Linked DNA regions of Homo sapiens: regions 1, 2, 3 and 4 are each linked to region 5. Evidence: promoter capture Hi-C in 16 types of primary human blood cells and fetal thymus (Javierre and others, 2016). All regions are on one chromosome and are shown on one strand. Each heading gives the region's core, a stretch centred on a gene start or on the middle of the fragment in contact. The rest is flanking DNA. Distances are from core to core; before and after follow the strand shown.

What was found. Contacts are between HindIII fragments. The CHiCAGO score rates a contact against its expected background, and 5 or more counts as called.
Region 1: a fragment that was not itself captured here is called in contact with the fragment with the promoter of DARS2 in region 5 in 1 of 17 cell types (neutrophils); the score reaches 7.0 in neutrophils.
Region 2: a fragment that was not itself captured here is called in contact with the fragment with the promoter of DARS2 in region 5 in 1 of 17 cell types (neutrophils); the score reaches 9.8 in neutrophils.
Region 3: a contact is called between a fragment that was not itself captured here and the fragment with the promoter of DARS2 in region 5, in 1 of 17 cell types (M2 macrophages). The highest score is 5.1, in M2 macrophages.
Region 4: a contact is called between a fragment that was not itself captured here and the fragment with the promoter of DARS2 in region 5, in 3 of 17 cell types (naive B cells, megakaryocytes and total B cells). The highest score is 7.6, in naive B cells.

What each region holds. Positions count from the first base shown.
Region 1 is chr1:174,771,000-174,774,066 of GRCh38, forward strand. The region is part of intron 18 of RABGAP1L (RAB GTPase activating protein 1 like); the gene reads left to right. Among named protein-coding and RNA genes, the nearest start is that of RABGAP1L-AS1, 180 kb to the right of the region's middle. The HindIII fragment of the contact is 3,621 bases long and covers 1-3,067 here.
Region 2 is chr1:174,744,146-174,747,108 of GRCh38, forward strand. The region is part of intron 17 of RABGAP1L (RAB GTPase activating protein 1 like); the gene reads left to right. Among named protein-coding and RNA genes, the nearest start is that of RABGAP1L-AS1, 210 kb to the right of the region's middle. The HindIII fragment of the contact is 4,626 bases long and covers 1-2,963 here.
Region 3 is chr1:173,249,588-173,252,974 of GRCh38, forward strand. All of the region lies in intron 2 of LOC100506023 (a long non-coding RNA gene), which reads right to left. It also overlaps a transcript of TNFSF4 not described here. Among named protein-coding and RNA genes, the nearest start is that of TNFSF4, 44 kb to the left of the region's middle. The HindIII fragment of the contact is 3,518 bases long and covers 1-3,310 here.
Region 4 is chr1:173,200,286-173,203,442 of GRCh38, forward strand. The region is part of intron 1 of TNFSF4 (TNF superfamily member 4); the gene reads right to left. Among named protein-coding and RNA genes, the nearest start is that of TNFSF4, 5.5 kb to the right of the region's middle. The HindIII fragment of the contact is 4,156 bases long and covers 1-3,157 here.
Region 5 is chr1:173,823,226-173,826,178 of GRCh38, forward strand. DARS2 (aspartyl-tRNA synthetase 2, mitochondrial) reads left to right here and starts at 1,448. Exons shown (of 17, transcript NM_018122.5): 1 at 1,448-2,131. The coding sequence starts at 2,005. It overlaps CENPL (centromere protein L), which reads right to left and starts at 1,658. Exons shown (of 6, transcript NM_001387287.1): 1 at 987-1,658; 2 at 701-794. RefSeq lists enhancers at 935-1,174, 1,152-1,670, 1,405-1,964, 1,671-2,188, 2,830-2,953. The HindIII fragment of the contact is 2,471 bases long and covers 1,345-2,953 here.

The DNA.
Region 1 (3,067 bases), core at 226-2,725, 950 kb after region 5:
CCTAAAGGCAGAATGCCAAATTCATTCTGGGAAACTAGTAAACATTTTCCAAAGGTGGCATCTAACCTGAGAATAGGACATGAGGGTGAGAGTGAACAGCATGTAGAAGAGGAATGAGGAAGAATGGCTGAGGCAAGTCCTTTGCCATGGCACATTTGAGGGGGATGCGCAGGATACGATTCTGAGGGGCTTTAATTACATTTCTGCCATCAATTTATTGTGGAATTTTAATCAAATCATCTAACCTTTTAACACTTAATTTCCTAACTTATAAAATAAAGAGACAGGGAAGCATGCTCTAAATTTATGTCATGCCAGCTGTGTCAATCTGTGCTATAGGTGTGTGTATATGTGTGTATGTTTGTATGTCTTATATAACCATTTCAGTCCTTTAATGAGTAGATAAGAATCTTTGTATAATTTGCATGTTTGTTGTTTAAGTGCTTGGCTAAATTTATCTTTGCCTCTTTTACAAAAAAAAAAGTGTTTACAGAACAATATAATAAAATTAGGAGCAAAGGAATATTTTATTTGTTATACTTCAAGATGAATACCACCAAAATGTTTTCATTTCAACTTAAAAATCTCTTTATAACCATACTTGAATATAAACAACCCATTTGTTCTACATTAGTGAAATGTTAGTGTGTGTATTTTCTAGCACTCACACCTCTGCACTGTGATCATTCTATCAGGTATTTCTAGATATCCAAGCAATGTGTTGGATCTATGTAAAAAAAATCTGACAGCTACCATCAATAACAATATAATTGTGTAGCATTTAAACAGTTTGTAATGAGCTCTCAAATGCATTTTTTAAATGTTTAATAAATAAAATTAATAGTAAGACACCTATCATTTATTGAGCACTTAAAATGTATCTGATGCTGTGCTAAGCACTTTAAAACTAATCTTCACGGCCGGGCACATTGGCCCACGCCTATAATCCCAGCACTTTGGAAGGCCGAGGCAGGTGGATCACGAGGTCAGAAGTTCAAGACCAGCCTGGCCAAGATGGTGAAACCCCATCTCTACTAAAAATACAAAAAATTAGCCGGGCCTGGTGGTGGGTGCCTGTAATCCCAGCTACTCGAGAGGCTGAGGCAAAGAATTGCTTGAAGCCGGGAGGCAGAGGTTGCAGTGAGCTGAGATCACGCCACTGCACTACAGCCTGGACGACAGAGTCAGACTGTCTCAAAAAAAAACAAAAAACAAAACAAAAAAAAATAACTAATCTTCACTACCTTTAATTTTGTTTATTGTAGTATAATATACGTAACATAAAATGTACAATTTTGGTCAGGGCAGTGGCTCAGGCCTGTAATCCCAGCACTTTGGGAGGCCAAGGTGGGTGGATCACCTGAGGTCAGGAGTTCGAGATCACCCTGGCCAACATGGAGAAACCCCATTTCTACTAAAAATACAAAATTAGCGGGTGTTGTGGCGTGTGCCTGGCTACTCAGGAGACTGAGATGGGAGAATCGCTTGAACCCGGGAGGCGGAGCTTGTGGTGAGCTGAGATCGCACCACTGCACTCCAGCCTGGGCAACAGAGCAAGACTCCATCTCAAAAAAAAAAAAAAAAAAAAAAAAAGTACAGTTTTAACCATTCCTAAGTACACAGTTCAGTGACATTAGGTAAATTGACATTGTTGTGCAACTATCACCACCATCCATCTCCAGATCTTTTTTTCATCTTGCAAAACTGAAACTCTTGCACCTGTTAAATAGTAACTCCCCATTCCTTTCTCCCCTTAGCCCCTGGCAGTCACCATTCTGCTTTCTGTCTCTATGAATTTGGCTACTCTAGGTACCTCATGTAAGTGGAATTATATCGTATTTGTCTTATCTCTGGCATATTTCACTTAGCATAGTGTATGACCCTTAATTTTTTTACTGACATTAATTAAAAGAAATCCTAATTTTAACAATAATTCTATTACTGTTAATATTGTATTACTATTTTATCAGTGATTCTATTACTGTTAATACTGTATTGACTTGTTGGTATGAATCAATATGCTCATTTTACAGATTAGGAAACTAAGACTTATAAAAAGTTAAAAAACTTGGTTAAAGTCATTCAGTTAGGCAAATGACATACCACAATCACAACTAGGCCTGTCTTACTACAGAGGCAGTGTTCTTAACTTCTAAGCTATGGGGTGTGTGTGTGTGTGTGTGTTTATTTTAAACCTTACAATTGCTCTGTGAACAAGAGATTATATCCTACTTGATACTCAAATCCCAGGCATGGCGACATATGCCTGTAATCCTAGCTACTTGGAAGGCTAAGGTGGAAAGATCACTTGAGCCCATGAGTGCAAGACTAATCTGAACAACATAGTGAGACCCGTTATCTAAAAAGTAATAAACAAATAAATAAATAAAAGCCAGGTGGCTCTCACTAAAAATTCCATGCCTTTTTACGTTATACAGCAGGAGACCCTTAAATTATAGTGAAATCAGTCTCCATTCCACAAATCTATGTTGACATCATACTATGAGTGAAAACAGGTTTTTTAATTCAAGTTGTTTGAATTAAGCATATTCTATTGTATGTTCAAAGATAGTTGTCCCAATTTAAAAATGTCCTTGGTTGAATAGGATAGAAGCAGAGCCAGAGCAACCAAGAGCCATTGCTATATGAACAAATAATTGAATTTAGGCTAATGAAAATGAACTCACTGTCAAAAATCATCATGAAATTAAAATATTCTCTGCTCTTGACTGGCTGGAATAATATTTGATTCCTGAGTTCTGCCTTTCCACTTATTCTGTCATAATCTTTGAGATATATGAAGTCATCCCTGAATACTGTTTAATGCTCTGGTTAAACTCCATTTCACTCTGACCAATCAGAGTATGTGAGCTGATCATAAGGAGCTATTATCAAGAGACTTGTCAGAGGATTCACTGCCCAATATGTTTTTATGACCCTTTTTATCTGTAAGAGTTGCTGGTATTGCTTTTTAGAATGAAATAGACTAATTTTGTCCATTACAGTGTTGATAGTTTGATAACTCACTGTGGGAATCAATTGATCTTATCAGAATAATATAACCAGT
Region 2 (2,963 bases), core at 302-2,801, 920 kb after region 5:
ACCTCTAGTGGACATTCAGAACAAAACCCAAACATCACATTCTTTTATTTAGTTACTCCATCAAGCACCATTAGCCAACCTAAAATATTAAACTTTCAAAGAGATTAAAACATGAGAAGCAGAATAAAGTAAAAGAATTTTTGGCTAATATTCTAAATATTCTTGCTGTAGAACCTGTATTTAAGAGCAGCTAGTATTAACTTATTTCTTTTTGCGTGTTAATTATCTGTCACTTTCACTACTTTCTTTGAAACAATGCATTGCTTTATAGATCATAGCAGCAAGAAATTTATCAGAGAAGCCAAATGGATTTTCTTTTGATTACCTGTAATATATAACAAGCTATACGAAAACTGAGTGGCTTTAAAAGGACAATGATTTTTATAGTGAGACATATAGTGATGTTATGTAACCTCCTGATAGAATGCACTGAGAAGGGCACAGCATCACTTCTGTGGTATTTGTGCCCAAAATACATATTCTGAATTTAATCATAAGGAACCAGTAGACATATCGAGTTGAGGGACATTTTATAAAATAACTGGCCAATACTCTTCCAAAGCATCAAGGTCATGAAAAATAAACACTGAAAACGGTCCCATATGAAAGGAGACTAAGGAGACATGACAACCAAATTCAATATATAATCCAGAATTGCATCCTGGACCAGAAAAAGGGCATTAGTGGAGCATTTGATAAAAATAATAGTTTCTTGGTTTTGATCATTATACTATGGTTATGTAAGATGTTAATGTTTGGGTAAAACTGAGTGAAGGATATGTAGGACTTCTTGGTACTGTTTTTGCAAAGTTTTTCTAAATCCGAAATTATTTCCAAGTGAAAAAAAGTAATTAAAACCAATCATTTATTTTCTTACAATCTCATGAGTCAGAAATTTTGGAATTCAACTGTGTGGTTCATCTCTGATCCACTTGGCATCAGCTGGACCACCTGATTCACTTCCAGATGACTTCTTTACTCACATATCTACCACTTTGGTGATTCTTGGTCTTTCTTCTTTACTGATGAAATCTGGTTCTCCAGGCCTTCTTTTGATTGCTTGGTTCCTTAGAGAGCATGGGAGTATAAGTATAATTGCACTTCTTATATGGTAGCTGGCTTCGAAAAGTGAGTGCTCCAAGGGACTGAACATGAAAGCTGTCAATATCTGAAGGCCTGGGCACATAAACTAGCATGGCATCACTTCCACCATATTCTACTGGTAAAAGCAGTACCATAGTCTGCCCAGGTTGAAATGAGAGAACAGAGACCTTAACTCTCAATGGAGAAGCATCAAATAATTGTGACTCTTTAATCCATCACAGATATCTAACAAAAGTCTCACTGAGTTGGCACTCAAGATGGAATTAGTGGAAAAAAGCCTGGATTTGCTTTAGTCTGATAGACCTGAGTTATAGCCTGGCTTTACCATTTACTAACAGTGTTCTGTCTCTGAGCTTCAGTTTAGCCATCTCTAAAATGGTGGCAATAATACATATGCCATAGAGCTGTTGAGAGGATTAAGTGAAAAATATAAAATACTGGATATAATGGGCAATAAATACATGAACCTAATAATAATAATTGCTAGTGTTTATCGAATATTTACCAAATACTCAGTTCACTTGATGTATGCTATCTCATTTAGTCATTATCTCTTCCTAGGGTGGTATGTTTTCTTTTGTATGGGTCAGAAAGGACAGAACCCCATTTCCTCTAGCTTTGTCTGTGAACCTGCTCCATTTACTTTGGCCATTTTTGGTTTGATAATTTGGTAATTTGGTTTATTGACTTGTTGTTAGGATTTCCATTATTTCCCTTTTATTTTGATTCCTAAGAACCCAGGTGCTGATGCACACTTGGTACTTTTTGACACTACCTTTTCAGCATTTGTTCTCAGTGCTGTCAGCTTAAGTTTTTGACAGCTTCTCACACAATCTGTCAGCTCTCTCTGAACCCACGATTGCCTGCTTATCAGAGCCAGAATGTTCAGTGTCTTTGTTTCAGTGAGTGCTCTACTGTCAGCTGTTATTTTATGCAAGATTGTGGGTGCTTAATCCTTGGCCTACCCAAGAACATCATGATCTGCACTTTGGAGCAATTATTCAATTTGGGGCAATTACTTGTAGGTGTTCTTTAAAGCAAAGATGATGCCAGAATGTAATTGAATTTTGAAATAGCAGTATCCAAATCAGTTAAAAAGCTACTTCGTCATGCATGCAAGGCTGATCTCAATCTGTTGTCATTAGAGGAAGGTGGTGACCCTTTCTTCCCACAGCAAGTTGGGTTTTTGTTGCCTCATATACTGCAAGCAGTCAGCTACTTTTTTTGAGTGTTTTCAATATGGAAACAAATAATAGAATTTAGTTCTGGTAGAAGTCACTTATTTGTTATCTTTTTACTCTCTGCTCTCAAAATTTACTTGCCTTTAAATGGAAAGAATCACTTTAATCCTTTAGGAAGTAGAGGACACATTAAATAATATCCAAATAAGAGATTTATTCATTCATTCACATATTCATTGAATCATCTTCTCTAACTTAATTGTTTAGAGTATCACTTTTGGAATTAGGTTAAAATCCTAGATCTGCACTTATTAGCTATTGGACTTAGGAAAGTTACTTTGATTTCTCTAAATCTTGATTTCCTTGTGTATAAAATGGAATTTTAGGTGGTTGTGGGATGAAATAGGGACATGCCTTTAATGTAATTAATTCATATCTTGGCACATACAAAATACTCAGTAGATGTTGGTTATTATTTTGCATTTGGAGTTAGACCTTGTACTATAAATGATAAGTGGCCATAATATGTTTACTTATTTTTTACTCTTAATAATTCTCCAAACCTTTGACTCCTACTACGTACATGTTTTCCCCTTAAGAACAAACAAATTGCTGGGGATTACATATTCCTAAAAATGGGAGGCATCTTGAAAATGTATGAGATATTTTGCTTTTAAA
Region 3 (3,387 bases), core at 302-2,801, 570 kb before region 5:
CTGTGAAGTCAGTGGGTGGACCTGGGCAGGGCACTCATGACTTCTGGAAAATAGCCTAAGTCTACCTAATTCCCAAGCACACAGTATATTAACAGTTCATGTGCCAGGACACCACAGCTTCCTGCCTTTAGCAGCAAGACTACACTCAGTACCAACACTTAGTATTAAATCTGCCTAAAGCCTTAGTAAAAATGGAGATAATAATAGTACCTGCTTCACAGAGTTCGTGAGCAGGAAGAGATAATGCATCATTAACACGAACCATAGTTCTTGACACACAGTCAACACTTAATAAATATTGGGTGATACTGGCAGTATCGATGGTAGTCATACTGATAACTCATAAGAATAATATGTTCTATTTCCCCCCATGGCACATGTTTACCTATGTAACAAACCTGCACATTCTGCAAATGTACCTCTGAACTTAAAATAAAAAAAAAAGTTCCTGAACCTCTTAAATCTTCAAATGTGTACTTTTCCAAAGAAAATTTAGTGCTGAGCATACTCCCTGTTCGTCAGTGCACCTGAGAAGCCATTCGATAGCTAACTATCCTATATATACGGCATCTAGTGACTAAATTGAGATCTTTATTTTAATCTACTTGTTTATTTTTATTTGTTCTATGAAAACTTTTAAAGGTTTTCATTAATTTTACCATTTAACACATTAATAAAATGTAGGTGAATTCTTAGTTTAACTTATAATTTAGCTCATCACCCTGAAACAAATTTCAATAAATTGAACAGATTATACTGAAAGAGAATATAGAAATAGAGGTTAAGAGACAGAAAATCATGTCTTATATGTACAAAGCTACCAGCCATACTGTCTTATTCATTTCAGTATCTCCAGTTTCATTTTTTGTTTTTTTGTTTTTTTTTTTTTTGAGACGGAGTCTCGCTCTGTCACCCGGGCTGGAGTGCAGTGGCGCCATCTTGGCTCACTGCAAGCTCCGCCTCCCGGGTTCACGCCATTCTCCTGCCTCAGCCTCCCGAGTAGCTGGGACTACAGGCGACTGCCACCACGCCCGGCTAAGTTTTTGTATTTTTAGTAGAGACGGGGTTTCACCATGTTAGCCAGGATGGTCTCGATCTTCTGACCTCGTGATCCGCCCACCTCGGCCTCCCAAAGTGCTGGGATTACAGGCGTGAGCCACCGCGCCCGGCCTCTCCAGTTTCTTAACACAGATCTCAATAAATATTTTTTGGAGGATTGAAGGGAGAGAAGTAGTATGAGATCTGGGGCTTTTAAGATCAAATGTCTATTGAGAGACTAAACTCCTTAGGAATCTCACCAGAAATAATATAACTAATATAATAGGAAGACTAAAATTATGCATAGGTGGCCTGACAATGTTTCTCAAAATGTAGTCCCCACATCAGCACCATCCATGTCACCTGGGAACTTGTTAGATATGCAAATTCTGAGGCCCCACCTAAGACCTATTGAATCAGAAACTGGGGATGGGGCTAAGCAGTCTGTCTTAAGCCCTACAGGTGATTCTGATGAACACTTAGGTTTGGAAACGTTTGAAAATGAAGGCACAAATACAGTCCATAGATACTATAAAGCCGCCAGGTGTTTAATATGGCAAAAACTAGGCAGATGTGTGCATTTGGTCAAAATAAAAACAGCTTTGCTCCCAGAATTCTACCTTTGCCTGGCATACTTCACACCATTTAACTGCAGGTTCTGTACAGGCATCTAAATTTTCACTTCTTGTTAATTGCCCAAGAAAGAAATCTGAAAAGAAATCTTGTTACAGAAAAAATTGAAGGGAAATTGAATTAATCTTTGAGCCCCTTGATAGCAGAGACTGATCTTGTTCATTATTGAACCCCCATTTTCTATGACAGTGCCTAGCACATAGTACTCAATACCTATTTGGTGAATAGATGAGGCAATCTCACATGTGGGAAGGGCTGACCAAGGTGGGCCCTCAAGATGTCTGAAAGGGGCCAGGGGGAGGGTATGTGAGGAAGACATGGTTTCAGTCCCAGTTCTAGCCCTTGCAGCTGTGTGACCTTGCAATAGTTATTTAATCTAAGTGTTATTTTCCTTATATGTACAATAGGGATGGTAACAGTTTCTATCCCATAGAGGTATTCTAAGGATTAAAAGGGAAAATACATATAAAGGACACAGCAGAGTACCTGGGAAATTGTCAATAAGTGTTAGTTCTTATGGTTATTGTGATCATTTTTGTGGTTTTTACAATGACACTACTGTGGAGGAGTCAATGCTTAAGACTAAGGCCCCTGTGTCAATTGCCATTATAAGGATTTGTGCCTACCCTATATGGCAACCTATTTTCCCTGGAAAGAAACACAGGAACGTGTCCTTTGTTGAAGTCCTTTCTAGAAGACAGAGAATTATGATTGGAAAATAAGGTAAATGCCCTGTTATTGTGTGGCTTGAATTTTAGGCAGGTTTTAGTTGGCTAACTAGATCAAATGTTTTATGTTAATAGATGGTTTTAGTTGGCTAACTAGATCAAATGTTTTATGTTAATAGATGGTTTTAGTTGGCTAACTAGATCAAATGTTTTATGTTAATAGATAATACTGTCAAAATACTGATTCTTCCACTTTTTATAATAGTTCCAGTCCTCAACTCTCATGATAGAAAGAAAAATAGAAAAGAAAGGAGGGAGGGAAAAAATAAAGTCTTCCAGAAAGTCTATCTTACAAGGTAAGTCCAATTTTCAATAATTATGTTGGAAGAACGCTTAACAGCTTAATTTTGGATCTCTTGATATAGCTTCATATAATCTTCATACAAATCTAATCAGAGATGTGAAGCTCTGATTGTTGAAATTATTAAAATACATAATTATTTGCTGAAATTAAATATAGGGAATTCCTTAAGGAGCCTTTCCACCATTTTTCTCTTCCTTTGAGATAATTATCTGTGCAATACTAGATATTAAATGGTTACATACTCACTGCACTTCTGCCCTGAATCTAGGTTGGAAGAACGTTTACTTGCCTTGCATAGGAAATTTCTCAATGTCTATATTTACTGCAGGTTGGCTTGGACTACAATTAGGGAACAACTGTTCCCACCAAAGTAGGATGTGTGGTTCATAACTGTGAAGAACCCATGCTGAAGGCTGATAGAAAGCAGCAACTCAGACATCAGGGGGAGCACTGATCAGGAGTGAGAGCAAGAGAAATTTCCCCAAATGAACAAGGAACTGCAGCAGACTTTTCACAGAACACCCTGGTAATAGAAAACTTCCATAGAAATTTCTGGTGAAAATTATACTTACGATGTATTTAAGAGTTTGCAGATGAAATGATTACAAGCTTCCTTCTAGCAGGATAAGTTTCAGAACTTCCTTGAAATCTTACATGCCTCCCTTCCATGGGCTCAGCCATGGT
Region 4 (3,157 bases), core at 544-3,043, 620 kb before region 5:
TCATATTTCCTCAGTGTAAAACTGCACACCATCTTTCTCCAAGGTCTTAGTGAAGAAATGAGGTCAGAAGTAGGAAAAAGCTCTGCAAAGATGAGAGACTGTTACTGCAAGTAGTACATTGAATAATACCATTCAACCTCCCTGCTACCCGTCCATTCTAAAAAACGGTTTGAGTTTAGGTTTTATTGCACCATATACAGGGCCAGATTAATATGCATGGGGGTCTTAGAAGCTAAAAATTGTCATCACCCAACACACAAGTAATTCAAAATATGTTTTACATTACTAAACTGTAAAATACATGTTTTATGACTTATTTTATATCTCATTAAGATGCTTTCCTTTGATGCATGTTTTGATGTTCTTTATCATTTTTGTAATATTGTCATTCCATCTTGATCTTTGACACTGTTTCACTGGCTTTCTAGGATGAAGGTCTGGCTGCCGCTGGGGAGCCCAGCCCTGAGGCTACATCACTTAAACTCACTGGAGCCCTCACTTCCCCACCTGTACAATATAGTACTTTGGGAATGAAGGCTCTCTAACCACAAGATCTTATTAAATTAGTATAAGAAGAATTAAAGTTCAGATTTGTTTGTCCATCTTTCTGTCAAGAAGCATGTGTTCTTAAATAGCATTTGCATGTTATCAAGCTAGGCAAACTTATAAAAATTAAGGTGCATTTCAGAATGAAAGGCCTACTGAAAAAAGATTTTAGTTATGCCAGGAATATTCCCCAATGTTTCTAGATTAGTGAACCAGATGATATGCCTCTTATAAATCTAATTTCCTGCCTTATTTGGTAGCCAAGTCATTGGAGAATTGGATGAAATATATCAAAATAAGAAGAAACGGAAATAGCCTAAGCCATGTGCTCTGAGTACGTAATTTTAGATCTCTGAACCACGTGCAGACACTGAACCTAATCACACTTCATAACCTCATAAATTCTCCCCTTCATTCTTTTGCTCTCTAATGCACCCATGAAATCTTAATTAGAAATCTATGTTTAAAAATAATAGGACTCTTCCAAGGTGGATTTTTTAATCCTAAAAATTACATTGGGGAAATCAAGGTTCATGAAGTTATGGTTAACATTAACTTTGATATGCTTTCTGAGATTTGAGTTACAGTGTGTGTGTATGTGTGCACACACATACTATAAAGTCAACATTTTAGTAGCAGTATGTTAACGGAAGCATGTTCATGGATAATGATAATAATAATCTTAGCATTTACAAAGCTGTGTATCAATTAATCCTCACCACAACCAAATTCCAGTCTTGGAAATGATTAAACTGATGCCCAGGGAATTTCAAGAAATTTACTTGGGGTCAAGAGGTAAAAGCCTGGACTGAAAAATTCTGGTTCCTGGCCCAGGGCACTCCCTTTATACTTCAATGAGTCCTCCAAAATCTGAGATGATGTTTTATAGCTTTGTATAAGCAAATGTTTTAATTCCTTTGTTTGAAAAGATTGGTTATCAAAAGCATGGGTGATTACAAACGAAATATACAAAGCATAGGATGGTAGAAAATTCAGTTTCAATCCAACTCTACCATGTATTTCATTAGTGACTATGGAAACATAAACCTTTCCACCTACAACTCAGCTGGGTTATTTTTCCCTCATTAAACAGTAATAACAACACTGTATGTAGCTCCTCTAACCCAAATGATGCAAAAGGATTAACTTTCATTTTCCATGAATGGAGAATCCCTGAAGTGGGGTAAGCTGTCATTTGAGAGAGAAGTAATTGCTATATATATATACATATATATATATACACACACACATACACATATATATAAAAGAAGAAGAAGAAGTGGAAGGCCAAGGTGGCCAGCCCCTAAACAAGGCTGGGTCTACTCAGTACTAGTAACCAGCAGCTGAGGTCAGAGAAGAGGAACAGAGAGATTGTATCCCTAGATCTATACCTAGAGCCTTTTGGCTTGTTTCCCAACTCTCCTCTGTGTGTGTATATTTGGATCTATATGTGCATACACGTGCAATATTTTCCAGCATCATCCCCATCCAAATTATTCTGTCCTATTTTGAATACCCAGATCAAAACATATATCTAAACACTTCATTTAGAAAATATCATCACTCTGCAAATAGTGAATAATATTAGCTGCCCCTGATATTGTTCATTCTCTTATTTGTGGATGAGCACTTGACTGCCTGAGAAGTTTTCTAATCAACTCTTCAGGAAAAGAGGATAAGCTGTCTTCAGACACAAGAGAATCGTTACTTTTACTGTGGTGCCCCCTAGTGCTGTTCAGATTAGACTCACTTTCTATATTTGCCAAAATACAGACTACACAAGAGAAGCAAAATTTGGAGAGGTAACAATGTTGGTAATTTTTCCTGTATTTCCTTTGGCGTAGGAGAGAATGAAGCGTGTTCCTTTAGCATGATTCACAAGATCCTTTGTGAACTGCTCCCCACCTCCCCAGCTTTTCAGCTTCATCTCCACCACTTTCCCACAGGAACACTCAACTTGAGCTATTCAGAAAAACTTGCTGTTCTGCCTAGTAAGCCTTCTACCCCTACCCACCAATTCCCATCCGCTTGTCTGCTTAAATAATTTATCCTCCTCCTTCTAGTATTAGCTGAAGCATTATCTCCTCCTGCAGGTTTTCCTGACTCCCCAGAAGGCTGAGGCAGCCCTCCCTCCTCCCTCCTCTCATCTTCCCATTGTCCCTTGAGCATGTCACTCTTTTGTCCCCACCCTGCATCTTGACTGTGAGTGTAAATAGTTCAAAAACCTTCTCCAATGGATGTTTATATCGCCAGTGCCTCAAATGGTACCTAGCACAAGTAAACACTCAATGGAAAAAAATCTGTGTAAGGATGGTTTCATTGATAATAAGAAGAACCATAGTGTAGGAATCAGGAGTTCTGGTGAATTAACCAGCTAAGTGGTCACGAATGGTTCACCTACCCTCTCTAGGTTTCTGTTTTCTTATCTGTAAATAGACTATATCTAATACCTGCCCCCAAATTCAATGATTCTATATGTTTAATACCTCCTTTAGAAGCCTCAAAATGCCTTATGACAAGCCAAGTCAACTTCAGATGTTAATTTTTTAATTCTCAAAGATTTGCTTATGAAAAGCAAATTCAAATGCCTTTGAAATTATCTTATTTGCAG
Region 5 (2,953 bases), core at 198-2,697:
TGAAGTCAAATCAGAATTCCTGTCTGGCTTTCAAGGCACTACTGTATTTGATCTTATTATCTGATCCTATCCAGGTTCATTTTCTACTACTTCAGTTCTTCCCCAAGATCCATCGACATTAGCCTTTCCAAAATCCAACATTCTGCATACACTTCCTCTAAGGTTTTGTATACAACATTGGGGGGTGGGGGGATGGGAGTGAAGAAAGTTCCAGTAGACAATTCTTTAAGAGGTTAAATGACAGCCCTATACCCAAACATGCACCCCCTACTCTAGACAGATGATCACTCTACTGTTCTCCCTGCCTTTTTATTCACCTTATCGCCAATTAAAAACACTTCTCTACTCCCGTTTGTCTCAGTAAATCTTATCCATTTTCCATGTGCCATCTCCTCAGAAGTTTTCCTGAGCTTGGCAGGGCTAGTTCTCTTGACAATTCCACTTGCAGTTGTGGTTCACAGCACACAAGTAAAGCTTTGTTGTTTCTCTTGTGATTAGTCCGTGAAGGGGCTCTGACTTGATCACTTTTCTACATTGCCACCAATACCTAAATCCAACCGCCCCAATGCCAATACTTAGCCAGTGTTAAGCACGTAGTGTTTAAACACACCTCAACACGCAAGTATTGTAAGATAATGACCACACAACAGGGCAAATACAAAGTTAAAGCAGGTCCGGGACCAATACAAAGCATCTTTACCAATAAAATGCCGTGATGACGCTGTCACCCATTCCGGATTCACGAATCATTCTTCAAAAGTCCGGCTCCAAAACTATGTGGAGACTGAAATCCCCTGAAGAAAAAAAAAAAAAACCGCCAAAATGACAGCTAAGACAGAGGCCAGACTAACCCCTGGCCCTCCCAAATTCCCTCTCGCTCCACAAGTGGGTTCACAAGAGACACAAACGCACCCAGGAAGACCTCCGCTCCCTCAGACGCGGGGCGGGCCCTGCGACTTCACTCTGGGAGGGACATTTCCGCTCACCCAGCTCTGCGACCCTCGCTCCTGCGGAGTCAGCTTCTGCTCGCGGAGGGGGAAGGGCAAAAGGACAGTGCGTCCCAACCCGTCCCTCTCCAGCTGAGCCTGTCAGAGACCAGCCCAGCTCTGAAATCAAGCCGTTGAGAAAAGGGAATTCGGCCCTCCGCCGCCTCTTCAGTTTAAAATCGTTTCCCGACTCGCTCTGCGGCCCCACGCAGGAAGCCTCCTTGGCGCCTCGCCGATTCCGTATCAGTGAAGCAACTAAAATTGCCATTTTAACTGAGGGCAAGGCCGAGCCACTTAACCACTATCGTCAACCTTTCCAATCGTGCTCGGTTGCTCCTCAGTTTTCCTACCGGTGCGAAGCTTTCTCTCAAATTTCCGCCCGTAGTAGGCATGGCGGCGGCACCTCACCACTGATTCGTTGAATTCCTTCCCGGTAATCTTGGGCACTAGCGGGCGGAGTTGAAGGGCGCTTGGACCCCAGCGGCGATCTGTGTTTGGGTTCGCGCTCTGGGAGAATTTTGGCTTTGCTCGCCTTCCTCTTTCAGAAGACTCGAAATCGGCCAGCAGGTCTGCGAGATTTGAAACGCGACTGTTACTCCTTGTTTTCCGGTTCTGGCCGCGGGAGCCTCTCGAGAAGCGTGGAAAGAGGAGAAGGGCGTATACCTTGTGACCGCCTCTGGTTGTCTTGGGCTCGCGCCTGGCGCCGCTACGTGGAGTCGCTCTCTCGTCGTCACTTTTGGCTGCCGACTTGTTGAGTAGAAGTGCAGACTGATGCTTTAAGACTCAGGGAGAGGTCTTTCCCTTATCTCCACCCCAGCAAGCACCCCAGAGACCTTGGAGATTTGTCTTGTTTCTAGACACGTGTACTCCAATGTTGTGCGGAGGAGGCCTTAAATATTCGAGAAGAGAGTGGGAACTCCTGGAATTTTAAGGGATTTCTGTGTATTTCCAAAACTGACTTTTAACTACCGGCAGCGTGGGATTTCGTGATTGTTTTTCGCCATCGTGTGGCTCCAACATGTACTTCCCTTCTTGGTTAAGTCAGCTGTACAGGGGTTTATCCAGACCCATCAGAAGGACCACCCAACCGATCTGGGGTTCTCTCTACAGAAGTCTGTTGCAGAGTTCACAGAGGAGAATTCCAGGTGAAAATAGCGAAGAGATCTATCCTATGAACAGTACTTCAGCCTGTTATCTACGGCCGGAGAGCTTTTATTCCATTTTTCATTTTTTCCCCCATTATTATTATTATTATTATTATTATTATTATTATTTGAGACGGAGTCTCGCTCTGCTGCCCAGGCTAGAGTGAAGTGGCGCGATCTCCGCTCACTGCAAGCTCCGCCTCCCGGGTTCACGCCATTCTCCTGCCTCAGCCTCCCGAGTAGCTGGGACTACAGGCGCCCGCGACCACGCCCGGCTAATTTTTCTGTATTTTTGGTAGAGCCGGGGTTTCACTGTGTTAGCCAGGATGGTCTCGATCTCCTGACCTCGTGATCCACCCGCCTCCGCCTCCCATAGTGCTGGGATTACAGGCGTGAGCCACCGCGCCCGGCTTTTCCCCTGTTCTTAACTGGATAGCCTTATGTGTAGAAGCGAAATTCACTCTCATTATATTCATTATACGGCAGTTTTTTTTCCCTGAGTTTTTAGAAAGACCACAAAAAGGTAACCACGTAATATATAGAATACTCTGCTTTTGGTTGATGCCTTAAAAAAATCCTTCTTCGGCCGGGCGCGGTGGCTCACGTCGTTAATCCCAGCACTTTGGGAGGTCGAGGAGGGCGGATCACGAGGTCAGGAGATCGAGACCATCCTGGCTAACACGGTGAAACCCCGTCTCTACTAAAAATAAAAAAAAAATTAGCCGGGCGTGGTGGCGGGCGCCTGTAGTCCCCGCTGCTGGGGAGGCCGAGGCAGGAGAATGGCGTGAACCTCGGAGGCGGAGCTTGCAGTGAGCCGAGATC